2 separate regions of the Homo sapiens genome follow, and region 2 is linked to region 1. Evidence: promoter capture Hi-C in 16 types of primary human blood cells and fetal thymus (Javierre and others, 2016). All regions are on one chromosome and are shown on one strand. The core of a region is centred on a gene start or on the middle of the fragment in contact, and the rest is flanking DNA. Distances in the headings are between cores, read along the strand shown.

Region 1 (2,774 bases), core at 247-2,746:
CTGAATTTTTCTGAGGACCCACTTGGAACGCTGACAGGGAACATCATTTGAATTGAACAATGGGGAGAGACAACTGCACAGCAATTTATTTAGAACATTCTTTTAATAGTCTGTGCATTTCATTTCTGACTAGAGAATTTACCTGAGAGCATCAGATTTTTTTTTTTAACTGAAGGATATTAAAACCTGAATTAAGAGCAGGATACCTGGATTCTAGTCCAGCTTTGCCACTTATTTGTAGAAGGCACTTATCCCTGTGCTTCATTTCTTCATCTCTACAAAGTGATGTGGACAAGATGATCCCAAGGCCCCTACCAGCTCTAACATTTTGGTATAATGTTATAATAAACGTAATTCACAGGCAACAGGTCTTTTTCTACTTGCTTAAAAAAAGAAGCAAATTCCTAAAATTTAAATGAAGCATATATCAAAAGAGCGATAAATCATTTACTGCCTTAAAGTTTTGGGGCATATTTCTCTAAAATAAATCATATTGTTGACACTAACAAAAGTCACGTGAGAAAGAGGGTGTCTCAAGGTGTGACTTCCACATAGAGTACAGGGTCAATGATGTTTATATATAACTGGAGAAAGCACCGAGTTTTACTTGGTTCTCAGTGTCTAAAGATTTGTAAGTATAAAGCCTATTCTCCATGTCCTTTTCTCCTTCTCACAGGACTTCCAACTTGGGACACTAGCAATCTATACATTCAGCAGACACCGCTGCTTAACATATTTGTGTTTGTCTCCATTGTTAGTCGTGTAGGGCAGTCCTTACTTTCAGTGAGAAAGCCATCTGAGTCCAAGTCGATTTTCTTTATGATCGCCTGCAGTCTTTTTTGCTGCTCTTCGTGGCCGAGTTTAACATATTCATCCACATCTTCCTTTAGGGGGAAGCGACACACAGGAGGGCCAAGCATTACTATCAGTGGGGCAAAATGGTGGAGAAAAACAGGGCTACTAGAAGACCCCCTTGCCAAAGGGTTTCGGGGTGACCCGCACCTGCACTTCAAGGCCCCTACCCCCTACACACCCTCCATGATCTGAGGGGTAGAAGGGATCCAGCTCTTGGGCCGTGCTATCTCCTCAGGCTTTCCAGGCCCCAGGACCCCCAGAGAGCGAGTGCCGCGCCGCCCGGCCCCCATTGTCAGGCCGCCCCTGCCAGGCCTCGCCCGGCCGCCCCCCTTTGTCCCGGGACAAAGCCCGCGGCAGCCGCGGTGCGAGGCCCGGCCCTCCCAGCACCGGCCTGGCCGCCTCACCTGGACGCCCAGCAGCGCCTCGCGGTCGTAGTCGCTGCGGCGCTCGCCCAGCGGGTAGTGCAGCTCCTCGGCCTTGCCGGCGCCGGCCGCGGCGGCGCACAGCAGCAGCAGCCCCAACGCCGCGGTCCTCGGGCCCAGCCGCATCGCGCCGGCCCGCGGAGGACACCGAGGGACGCGAGGAGGGAGGCTGGCGGGGGCCCGGGCCGGCTGCGATGCTCCGCGGGCGGCTACAGAGAGGCGGTGCGACGTACGTTGAGGGCGGAGGGAACGGGAGGCGGAACCTGCGGTGGCGGCCACAACGCCCATGGACGGGCTGGGGGCCGGTCCACCAATGCGGTGCGGAGGCGCGCCAGGAGGAGGCCTATATGGCCGGCGCGGAGTGGCGGGGCACCAGGCCGCGCCGCTGATTGGGCAGCGCGGCGCTGGGGGCGGGCCGCCGCGATGTCGGGGTCAGCGGCCGCCCAGAGAGCTCCAGGAGCCATGCTGGGACTGCAGAGAGGGTAGACCTCTACGACCCGCGCCTTGTCGTTCCCCCGAAACGCTTCTAAAAGCACGCCCCCACCCCACTCCTGCCCACTCCTGGTCCACTCCATGTGCCCCTCCTACCGTCCATCAATGAGAGAGGCTGGAGGTTTCTGAGACAACAATACAATATCGAAAAAATTATTGCCTGAGGAATCGGCCAACAGTATTCTTTCTCAGTCTTCAATGTATCTATTTTATGAGAGTAGGACGTACAAACTCAGGAAGTGCAGCCAGATGCTTGTATCTGATGCTCAATTTCGTGATTTACAAGTTAATGTGAACTTGCTCAAATTTCTTGACCCCTGAAAACTTGTTTGCTCATCTATAAAATGAGCATAGTAATAAGACTACCTTAAAGAATTGTCGTGAAGATTAAATAATGTAATGGGTTTAGAACAATAGCTGGCACATAAGGTGAAGTGTTCAGTGAAGGTAGGCTTTCATCCATACAAGTAGAAAAACGAAAGATGATTGCACAGAAGGAATAGCTTAGTAAGTACCTAGCAAAACCTTTAGGGACAGAATGCATATACACATGGCTTCTATTCCATGTCTATTCACAGGTTTATGTAATTTCTCCACCTCAACCTGAACACATTAAACTCTAAGAAATTTGTAGGCTGCACCTTGAACCCTTTTCTTTATTGATTGCGCCACTTAGGATCAGGCCTTTCACAGAGAAGAAAAGGCTTTCTGGGTCCTCTTTCATTTCTCTCAGTCTCTATTTGGATTGGGAGCAAGAATTCTGTTCCAAACTGCAAAACTGGGTGGGCACAAGTCGCAGAAATTTCCTGGGTCGGGTTGAAATTTATGGTTTGGTCACAAACCATTGAAAGATTCACAGAGCAAAGTGTAAGTTCAATCTTTCCAATGTTATAAAGATCAACGAAGAACAAAGTTTTAAATTTCAGAATATAAATAAAAGCAAATTTTAGAGTTGATTTCATTAAACTAAAAAGAAAACCCTTTATTGCTGGATTTTAATTTTCA
Region 2 (2,817 bases), core at 135-2,634, 550 kb before region 1:
CTACTGCTCATTTGTTGAACATATTTTTTAAAAACTTATTTTCTCTCTCTTTTTTGCTTATTGAGAATTTTATATTTTTATTTTGTTTTTTTTTTTTTTGAGACAGAATCTTGCTCTGTTACCCTGGCTAGAATACACTAGTGTGACCCTAGCTTACTGAAACCTGAACTCCTGGGATTAAGTGATCCTCCTGCCTCAGCCTCCTGAGTAGCTAGGACTATAGGTGTGCGCCATCATGCTCAGCTAATTTTTTTCATTTTTTTTTAAAGCAGGGGTCTCACTATTTTGCCCAAGCTGGTCTTGAACTCCTGGGCTCAGGCAATACTGCCTCAACCTCCCAAAGTGCTAGGACTACAGGTGTGAGCCACTGTGCCCCACCAAGAGTTTATTTATTTTTTATTTAAAAAAATTTTTGAGACAGTGTCTTGCTCTGTCACCCAGGCTGGCATGCAGTGGTCTGATAATGGCTCACTGCAGCCTCGCCTTGACCTTCTAAGCCCAAGTGATCCTCCCACTTTAGCCTCCCAAGCAGCTGGGACCACAAGCGCATACCACCATGCCTGGCTAATTTTTTGTATTTTTTGTAGATACGGGGTTTTGTCATGTTGCCCAGACTGGTCTTGAACCTGGACTCCAGCGATCTGCCTGCCTTGACCTCCCAAACTGCTAGGCTTACAGGTGTGAGCCATTGCACCTGGCTGAAGAGTTTATTTTTTAATCTATCAAAACCAGGGAGTTACCTGTTTGTATGGTGAGTCCACATCAACATTTAACAGACAACAGTCACTGTGTTATTGAGTGGTGAATATAAAAGCTTCCTACTTATGTAGGCTCACATACATACAATGTCTCACTGACTACTTCTAAATTATCATTAGTATTTTCCAGAGAAAAGGAAGATTAAAAATTAAGTTATATTTATTTTGTTCTGAGTGCTGTTTTGGGGATGATTTCTTCTAAGTTTCCCACTCACTTTTCAAAACCTTTTGGGAAACTAATGCCCAAGAATACAGCTAATAAGTGACAAAGCTAGAAATGAGGTCAAGCCACAAAAACCATGCTTTTCCCATTAAACCATTCTGAAGCAAGCATAAGAAAAAACTGTCTTGAGTCTGTTTTCTTTTATTTTTAGAGACAGGATCTCTCTGGACTTGAACTGCTGGGCTCAAGCAATCCTCCCACCTCAGCCTCCCAAGTAGCTGGGACTACAGTGATTCTCTTTTCTAATATTATTTACTACATTTAACAACCATGCAACAGGAATCTTAACCAAGTCTCCAACTTGTTCATCCAATGTAATCCCAGGGTTTTAGTAGTATTGATAAAGTCTGATGACATCTTATTTTTGATGATGTGCTGGCATATAAATATTTATCAGTGAGCACTCACCATTCCCTAACGATCGAGTCTGTTCACAACTTCTCGAACTGTAGCTATGAAGTTTTCATTGTCTTGGGGATTAGCTAAAATAATACTGTGCAGTCTGTTCATATATGAGTCAATGGTGTCCACTGTAGGTGTCTCTCCACTTCCTGAAGTGAGATAAGAAGAAAGTAAGAAAATCCTCCCTATTCAGTTGTACCATAAAACACAATTTCAAAGAAACAGTGATTCTAATGTGGTCTGCTCCACAGACATGCTTTTAATTTTAGAGGAGAGACTTTTAGATCTCAAAGAAATGAAATTAGTCCACATACTCTAAATAAACAGATGGGCTATATAATTGCTGTATAGTATATATGAGCAGCTGCATGTAACAGAAGGTTAGACTCGCTCAGCTTTCTGCTATGACTATCTTCAAAATGAAAGAGTATATAAGAAATACCAGTGTTCATTCTCCCTTCCTTCCCGTTAAAACAAAAACAACTAAAAAGCAAACAAACATACATAAGAAGAAACACTCTCAAGATTTACTACTCAGTTTCCAGTGTTCTGAATAGCAAATTAAGCTTAAAAGAGGGGAAAATAGATATTAAAATATAAATGGACAAAAATTTGAATGACCAGAGAGCCTGAAACATTGGACGATTTTAGCCAATACTGACATTCTATTATATCCAGAGAAGAAAAAATGTAGTTTAATTAATTTTCCTCTGGAGGAGATTTCAATCTCTCCACACCAGTACTAACATAAACAGCACCCCACTCCACACAACACACACACCCCTGTCACTGACAGTTCTCAGGCAGGAGGACTTACCAGGCAAGGGCATGCTGGCAAAGCTGCTGGTCAGCACCTGCCGCAGGGTCTCCAGGTGCTGCTGTAAGACTGTGTTGCGGCTCCGCTCCTGGATCACATCCACCTCCAGCTTCTCCACTGCTGTGCGCATGCTCTCCACGTGCTTTTGCAGGGCTGCATTCCTCTCCTCAAACTCCATGTTGGATTTGCGAAGCTGGCGGAGCTCTGCTTCCCGAGCTGAGGACATACATCCCACAGAACACATGCAGCACTAGAAGGAGTCTCTGAGGAGTCCCAATGACTCTTACAGGGAAGTTCTGCTTAGCTGCCTCTAATTTAGCTACCCCACCTCATCTCCCTATTCTCATTATGGCATTCCAGATAGCAATTTCAGCAATGAAACGCCTGACTCCCCAGAGCTATTTTAATTCTTAAAGCTAGTCACATTCCATACATAAGATTGCAACAAACAGTTTCAATTCCCAGTATTTTTTTGTTTGTTAGTTTTTGCTTTTTAAATTGTACAATCAGAAGCCTGAGGGGTTTTGCAGGGGGATCCTGGGAGACTGGCCAAGCACAGCTGTAGGTACCCATCTTTACCACAATGGGATCAGACTTGCTCTTACTTATTTTATATT

What was found. Contacts are between HindIII fragments. The CHiCAGO score rates a contact against its expected background, and 5 or more counts as called.
Region 2: a contact is called between a fragment that was not itself captured here and the fragment with the promoter of RCN2 in region 1, in 1 of 17 cell types (naive CD8 T cells). The highest score is 5.1, in naive CD8 T cells.

What each region holds. Positions count from the first base shown.
Region 1 is chr15:76,930,471-76,933,244 of GRCh38, reverse strand. It overlaps RCN2 (reticulocalbin 2), which reads right to left and starts at 1,496. Exons shown (of 7, transcript NM_002902.3): 1 at 1,260-1,496; 2 at 779-884. The coding sequence starts at 1,403. RefSeq lists a silencer at 1,054-1,803. The HindIII fragment of the contact is 17,303 bases long and covers 1-2,774 here.
Region 2 is chr15:77,477,894-77,480,710 of GRCh38, reverse strand. It overlaps HMG20A (high mobility group 20A), which reads right to left. Exons shown (of 10, transcript NM_001304504.2): 8 at 2,201-2,416; 9 at 1,390-1,532. The coding sequence ends at 1,396. Among named protein-coding and RNA genes, the nearest start is that of HMG20A, 58 kb to the right of the region's middle. The HindIII fragment of the contact is 1,135 bases long and covers 817-1,951 here.